Linked DNA regions of Homo sapiens: region 1 is linked to region 2. The links are contacts of gene promoters, found by promoter capture Hi-C in human tissues and cell types (Jung and others, 2019). All regions are on one chromosome and are shown on one strand. The core of a region is centred on a gene start or on the middle of the fragment in contact, and the rest is flanking DNA. Distances in the headings are between cores, read along the strand shown. Region 1 overlaps TMEM45A (transmembrane protein 45A). Region 2 holds the start of TMEM45A (transmembrane protein 45A).

Region 1 (4,028 bases), core at 1,184-3,683, 57 kb before region 2:
ACCATTACCATATTATGAAAGCCTGTGCAACTGACTATGGGGGCACCTCAGAGGTTAAATGCCTGGGCCTTCTCCACTTTTTTTTTAAGGCTGTTAGTATATTAAAAAAGAAAGAAAATGCCAAAACAGAGTCACAAAAATTTTGGTTGCTTTTAAATATTTAGAATTACCTAATAAATACTTTAAACATACAAGCAAACATATTGCCTATGTCATAGATATGATGAAATTTTAAAATCCAGGCCTTCCCTGAATGTACAGCTCTAGGCCAAATAGCCCTCCTGACCCACCCCTATGACAAGCTAAGAGGCTCCTGCTGCCCCCAAAGCTGAGAGGATCAGTATATCTCAGCACATCCATCAGGATGTAATAAGGAGGCAATGGGGAATAGTGGAGGGTTTGTGAAGAAGAATATGAGCTGATCAAAGTGGGGAAAGAAAGGAGTCCTCCTTCCTACTTCAGTTATACAACTCCTGTGTCTTCAGCCTTTTAATCTGAAACAATCTGATGGTTCCAATCTTTCTGTTTAAAGATCCAAACAAAATGAAGTCAAAGTATAAGGGTTGTTAACATTTGTCTGGCTAAGGAACCCAACAGATACAGTTACTCCTGGCAATAAAAACATCATTCATCTTATTTCATTTTCATTGTGAAAGAAAACATTGTCCATATCCTCAAACGTTACTTCACTCTCATCTCCTAGAAACAATTATCTGTAAATCTCTTGTTCCCTGCTTTACTGTTGCCTTCAGGTGCAACTTACTCCTTGTAAAAGCCAAGTAAAGTAGCACAGAGTTTGATCAGATTTAAACACAAAAGCAGACATTCTCGTTTGAAGGAGACCACGGGGCTTTCCTCGCCCACCAAAGAGAACATGCAAGCAGCCAGCAGCAACCCCAGGGAAAATGCCAGGGCAGGAAACATGAAGGTCCTTCCTCCGTACCCTCCTACCTGATCCTACCACTTACAACCTCCTAAGAAAAGCAGTTCGGCCGGGCGCAGTGGCTCAAGCCTGTAATCCCAGCACTTTGGGAGGCCAACACAGGCGGATCACGAGGTCAGGAGATCGAGACCATCCTGGCTGACACGGCGAAACCCCGTCTCCACTAAAAATACAGAAAAGTCTCTGGGTGTGGTGGTGGGCACCTGTAGTCCCAGCTACTAGGGAGGCTGAGGCAGGAGAATGGCGTGAACCCGGGAGGCGGAGCTTGCAGTCAGCCGAGATCCCGCCACTGCACTCCAGCCTGGGCGACAGAGGGAGACTCCGTCTCAAAAAAAAAAAAAAAAAAAAAGCAGTTCACCCAGGCCTAAAAAGACGGACTGAAAGATTTCATCATTGGTTTCCAGTGTGATTCATCCTAAAAATTCTTCCTCCTCCCCCATCCAAAGAAGCCCTCCACTTCTAATGATACCAAGCATTACCCTCTGGCCTGAAAACCAGAAACCCCTCCTGGTATCCCCATTACCCTACTTTTTGCTGAACACCCCCCGGCGTAAACACAGACTCACTCACCATGCAGAAGGGAAACATTTTAAAACTCTATCCCTTAAGAGATAATATTGGGCAGAGCCCAAGATCTAACTCAGGTGCTAGGTGTTAATTCCCAGATGTTAACAGCCACACAAACCACAGACTAGGTCTATACACAGAAAGGGAAAACAACTCACAATAACCCAGAAAAAGAGATGCAATGGTTTGCTTGGTGGAATTCTAATCGAATAGCTAAATTCAATATAAAATGAATACCATTATGAGAAAAAACTTAAAATTTCATCTTGCGCCACCACCAAAATGAAGTATTCCTAAGTCTTCATTAGTGACTCATACTTCAAAATACATTTGTAAATTCCAATACACTAAACAAATCTGAACAGCTTTGCTCTGTTTGTCTTAATACTCAAATTGTATCCACATACTATGTGGATACAAAAATATGTAGCTTTAAAATTTCATTCTCCATCATTCTGTACCAGCACTTTCTCCTGCAAATTTCATTGGTTTTGAATGAGTCTTCTTAAAGTATCCTTACCTTCACACTTTCCTCAATGTCAAGTCCAACTCAATTCTCTTCTATTAAGGATTTATTTTTTTTTCTTTTTTTTTTTTATTATGCTTTAAGTTTTAGGGTACATGTGCACATTGTGCAGGTTAGTTACATATGTATACATGTGCCATGCTGGTGCGCTGCACCCACTAACTCGTCATCTAGCATTAGGTATATCTCCCAATGCTATCCCTCCCCCCTCCCCCCACCCCACCACAGTCCCCAGAGTGTGTTTATTGTGGCATTATTCACAATAGCAAAGACTTGGAACCAACCCAAATGTCCAACAACGATAGACTGGATTAAGAAAATGTGGCACATATACACCATGGAATACTATGCAGCCATAAAAAATGATGAGTTCATGTCCTTTGTAGGGACATGGATGAAACTGGAAACCATCATTCTCAGTAAACTATCGCAAGAACAAAAAACCAAACACCGCATATTCTCACTCATAGGTGGGAATTGAACAATGAGATCACATGGACACAGGAAGGGGAATATCACACTCTTAAGGATTTATAATGGCTCTAGACTCAAGAGGGAAAAGCAGATGCTGAGTGGCCCTAAATCTAAAACTGCCCACTCTTCCTCCTTTGAGATTAAACCAATGTGCTCCTATCTTTCTAGCATGAGCAGGTAAACCTTCAGACTAGGTTCCAATGCATTTAAACCCAGAGAACACACCCTTTGGAACCTCCAGCCTCCCTGTCCAAACATTGTGCCAGAGGGCAGTTCTGGATGTGACTCACCTTGCCATCCCACCTACCAGGCCACTAGCCTCAGTCATGTGCCACCTGCTCTGAGAACCAAGGCCAGTGAAGGATATTGCCACTCTTGCAGGCCATGGAGACAGACAGAAGACAAAGGGAATGGTTAGAGCAGCAGTAACATAATAGATCGTGTTCTGTAAGGCATAAGAAGATAATCCATTTTCGTTTTGGTTGTTTTTGTTTGTTTGGTTTTGGTGGTTTTTTTGTTTGTTTTTTTGTTTTTTTGTTTTTTTTTGAGACAGGATCTCACTCTGTTGCCCAGGCTGGAGTGCAGTGGGGCAATCTCAGCTCACTGCAACCTCCACCTCCCGGGTTGAAGTGATTCTCCTGCCTCAGCCTCCTGAGTAGCTGGTATTACAGGCGCATGCCACCATACCAGCTAATTTTTGTATTTTTAGTAGACATGGGGTTTTACCATGTTGGCCAGGCTGGTCTCGAACTCCTGACCTCAGGTGATCCGCCCACCTTGGCCTCCCAAAGTGCTGGGATTACAGGCATGAGCCAGCATGCCCGGCCAAAGATAACCCATTTTCTAACACACAGTGCCTCAAGAAAGAGATCGCCACAGGGTTGAAGTCATGGCCAAAACCGAAGTTATAGGAATAAGAAAAATGATGAAAGAAAACTGCTGTAGGTCAACAGTGCAGCGCAAAGCATTTGGGATGCTCTTCTAATCATCACTTGCATTGTACAGGGACACTTCAGGCGCTTGAGGCACCCACTGCAGAATAGACACAGCCCCTGCTCACAACAGAAAGCTTATGATAGACTGAACAAACCACAAAAAACAGAAATGCTAAAATATGTCCCTAAGGAACAAACTAATTACAAGTTCTATGGAGGTGTTAAGATGACTGGCATGTGTAAGACGGGGAGAGGACTTTGTCTAAGAAGGTGCCTGATGGAGGAGATCGTTCTAAAGTAGTGCTGTAGAGGAGGAGCCCGCAGTGACCAGGGGACAGTGGAAAGGAAGCTTCTCAACAGTGGAAAGCAGTTAGGTGAAATCAAGAAAGAAGTGAGAGCTCTGGTCTGCAAGAGAGCTTCTCGTTCACTCTCAGCTTAGCAAGCCCAGCCTTCCAAATAAGAGGATGAGTGTCTCTTCTTTTTGCAGATGATAGTGCCAAGACACAGGAATGCTATTTGAATGAGCATGTGGAGACAAACAGAGTAGCATCAAGATACTGAGATTTAAATCCAACTTCCCCAT
Region 2 (4,028 bases), core at 3-2,502:
AATCCCAGCTACTTGGGAGGCTGAGTCAGGAGAATCACTTGAACCCGGGAGGCAGAGGTTCCAGTAAGCCGAGATCGTGCCATTGCACTCCAGCCTTGGCGACAAGAGTGAGACTCTGTCTCAAAAACAAACAAACAAACTACAACAACAACAAAATATATAGCGTATATAGAGTATACTATATAGCATACATAGAGCATATACACCATATAGCATAGTGTATACATAGCATGTATATAGTATATATACCATACTATATAGTGCATATATACTATATAGTATATATATACAATTATAAGTTTATGAACACACAAGTGGTCTGTCACATGTTTGTTTGTTTTTAACAATTATAAAGGAATTCAGGTCTCCCACTATGGATAGGAGAATACCGAAAAGATATATATTTGGCTTGCAACTACCTCCAGATTTAAGTGAAAAATCCAGCAACTACCTGCATAACCCAGGTTTTACGTAATTTATATTAGACATCCTATTAACAGAAGCAAACGTGTTAATTCTGAAAAGATCAGATAATTTTCTCAATCTCCCATCAAAACAGTCCCAGAGTTGGGGATAAAAAACGATTTTGGCTTTACAAATACCCACAGTATTTTCACAGAAAGAAAATAGAGAAATAAATTTATCAATAGATTCAATTTTGGAGTTAGAGGTTTACAACAGAATATCAGTCACATTGCTGCTCCCAGGATATTTAAAACTAGCTCACCAAAAAAAAAAAAAAAAAAAAAAGAATAGCAAACCAAAAAAATTAAATTAAAATGTTAGTGAAACGGAAGAGAAGGGAGCGAAGGGTCCAGTTTGTCGCAGCAAGTGTTACTTTTCTCCCCTTGATGAAGAGAAAGCTGGTGAGAACAGTAAAAAGACACAGGATAGAGATCACGGCAAGAGAAATATGATATCCAGCACGTATCCAAAACTTACCCAACTTGGTCTGTTTACTCAACACTTTATTTTTCCCACTTTGCCAGCTTAAAATCAGACAGCGGCTGGGCTTTTGTTGTTGCTGTTTCTGTTCTTTTGATCCCAGAGCCCCATGAAAATTAAACCGTGTGTTGGATGGGATCTGGCCACGTCTCGCATTGGGTGGGGGGAGGAATTTTTAAACTTGGGTCCCTAGTCGCTTCTTTGGGAAAACGAATAAATAATAAGTGGCGAGAAGGAGAGGACGTGGGGGACGTGCTCGGCTGACGTCGGCCCGCGAGGAGGCCGCACAGCTGTCCAGATGTGCTTCATCTGTTCCCCCCGCGGGGCACGGGCCTCGGCGGCCGCGGCTGGCACAAGCCCCAGCTCATTGGTGGCCGCAGCTCTTCACTTGCTGCCGATTGGCCGGGCGGCCCGCCACTCCGGAGGGCCTCGGGCCCGCCCCTCTCTCAGGCCCGCTGGCTGCATCCTAAGGGAATGTGGAAGTGCAGCGCCGTCGCTGATGTGGCACTCGGCGGCTGCGCGGCCGGGACGGCTCGGGGCAGAGAGGGAGGTTGCCTACTCCCAGGTCTTGCCCCTGCCCCGGCCCTGTTATGCCCCTCCTTTTAGACAGACCGCTTTGTTTAAACAGGATGATTTGTAGCCGTTTGGAGGCTGAAAATAAGGCGGATGATTTGTAGCCGTTTGGGGGCTGAAAATAAGACGCGCCTGGTGCTTGGAGTGGAAGAGGCTGGGGCTCCGGGCTGCCCACGCCCCCAAAGGGCGTTCAGGCCACGCCTTGGGATTCCTCTCTCTTCACTTTCTCCAGGGAGCAAATAATAGGGCCCAAGAGCCTGCTCCCTGGGGACGGTATTCTTTCTTTCGGTGGAGGGAAAACCTTAATGAACCCTTCGTTGAAGTCCTTATTAACCAGAATTGAAGTTGTTCCTGCGGAGATGACCAGGACTGGGTATGAGAGTGGTTTGGCAGACCTGCTTGGTTTTTTGTATTGAGTGATGGTCGTTGTAGGGAACCGAGAAATACTGCTTTGTTGTGTGAGAATTGAGAAAGGACTGCGCCAAACGTTGCTTTGAACTTGGGAAAGCAGTTGGAGGGTTAACCAGTTTTTTGATTAGTGAGTTAGAAGGAGAGGAGGAAAGAAGAGATCTGCAAATCAATTGCCATTATAATTTGTGCATATTGACAGAACCGTTCCCTCATTGAAATATTAAGTGGGCAAGAGCCACACTCACTGGGCTGCACGCCAGGGAAGGCACCAGACCCCGCATTAAACAGTTTTTACCTGCATTATCACATTTAATTCTTACAACTACCTTATAAAATAGATATTAAAATAATCTCCAAGACCCAGCACCTATCCCAGCCTACCACAGATGTCTCCAAACATATGTTTGCAGCACTCCATCATAGATACATAAACTCATCTGCAATTTGCCATCCCTGCAGGGGTCAGAATTTATTATGAGTGTCCAAAGCTTTCACTACAATGATAATGTCTTGTTTGTTGGTGTATTTGTCATCTATTGCTGCGCAACAGATTCCCACAAACTTAGTGCTTTGTACAACACATGTATATCACTGCACAGTTTCTGAAGGTTGGAAGTCCAGGCATGGCCAAACTAGATCCTCTGCTTATGCTCTCACAAGGGTGCAATCAAGGTGTCAGCCGGGCTGCATTGTCATCTGCAGGCTCTACTGGAGAAGAATCATTTCCAAGCTTTCTCAGGTCATTGACAGAATTCATTTCTTTGCAGCTCTAGGACTGACTCCCCAGTTTCTTTCTAGATGTGAGCTAGAGGCTGCCCTTAGCTCCGAAAGACTGCTCTTAGGCTCCCAATGGCCATCCACGGTTCTGAAAAGCCAGAGAATAGAGATCACAGGGGCCACCTACAAGTCTGTCTGCCACAATTGGATAGTCAGACACCTCAATTTCAATGGACCTGACTGCAATGTTATCATAACTCTGTAAGACCCCCACAAATGCAGGAGCCTGCTCAGCAAGTAAAGTGGCACTACATGAGTGCAACCACAACACTCCAATCCTTCTGGCAGTCAAGGAAACCCACAAAGGAGCAACATTTGAATGTAGCCCTTGAAAGTAATGTGTCATGTGTTCAGCTTTCTGAATCATTTGTAATCTCACAATGCTGCACTTTTTATCACAGAAGCCGCTCAACAGTGGGCTGATAGTCAAGGTATTGATTAACCCTCCACACTCATTACCATCAACAGGCATCTGATATTGACCAAAAATCACTAAAAAAAAAAAAAAAAAAAAAAAAAAAGAATCCTTCTGCTCTCAGGAAGATGGAGTGGACATCAGTATTCCATTTCTCCTGCTAAGCACAACAAAAAATCCTGGACTTCATATATTTTCCAACATTGGAAACTCCAAGAGGTTGAGAGAAGAAGACAGATGAGCTAGAAATCTCAGAACCCAAGGAATGACATGATGCTGAGTTCCCTGGGCTTGCTTTCTGTTGTTTCTTTGCCCCAAACTTGGAGCTGAAGAAGCCAGCAACCCAAAAATGACAACAGGCACAGACAAAAAAGTCTCAACGAACCCTGCTCTCTCTAGTCAAGGACCAGGAAATGGGAAGCCTAGAAAGACAGAAAAACTTTTAGGCAGTAATGGCTCTACTTCAGCCAAACACCACAGGAAAAACCCTGGCCCCACTCACTCCTACATGAACAGAGGCTGAGTAGAAATCCTAGACTCCCGCCTTTTCCAGGCTGTAACAAGGTGAAGATGCAGAAATCTTTAACAACGTATTACCAAACAGAATTCAGCAATATATAAAAATAATTATACACCACAACATAGTGGAGTTTTTTTCAGGGATGCAAAATCAAAATTCTAAAGTCAATCAACCCAGGCGTGGTGCCTCATGCCTGTAATCCCAGCACTTTGGGAGACCAAGTCCAGCGAATCCTTTGAGCCCAGAAGTTTGAGACCAGCCTGGGCAACAGGACACAACCCCATCTCTACACAAAATATGAAAATTAGCCCAGCATGGTGTCACACACCTGTAGTCTCAGGTACAGGTGGGACTGAGGTGGGAGGATCACCTGAGCCTGGGGGGTTG

Evidence for each region. Contacts are between HindIII fragments. The study calls those that stand out against the background at their distance.
Region 1: a contact is called between a fragment that was not itself captured here and the fragment with the promoter of TMEM45A in region 2, in 1 of the 25 tissues and cell types used here (pancreas).

What each region holds. Positions count from the first base shown.
Region 1 is chr3:100,548,275-100,552,302 of GRCh38, reverse strand. The region is part of intron 1 of TMEM45A (transmembrane protein 45A); the gene reads right to left. Among named protein-coding and RNA genes, the nearest start is that of TMEM45A, 58 kb to the right of the region's middle. The HindIII fragment of the contact is 4,559 bases long and covers 154-4,028 here.
Region 2 is chr3:100,489,843-100,493,870 of GRCh38, reverse strand. TMEM45A (transmembrane protein 45A) reads right to left here and starts at 1,252. Exons shown (of 6, transcript NM_018004.3): 1 at 943-1,252. RefSeq lists a silencer at 1,235-1,534. The HindIII fragment of the contact is 8,963 bases long and covers 1-4,028 here.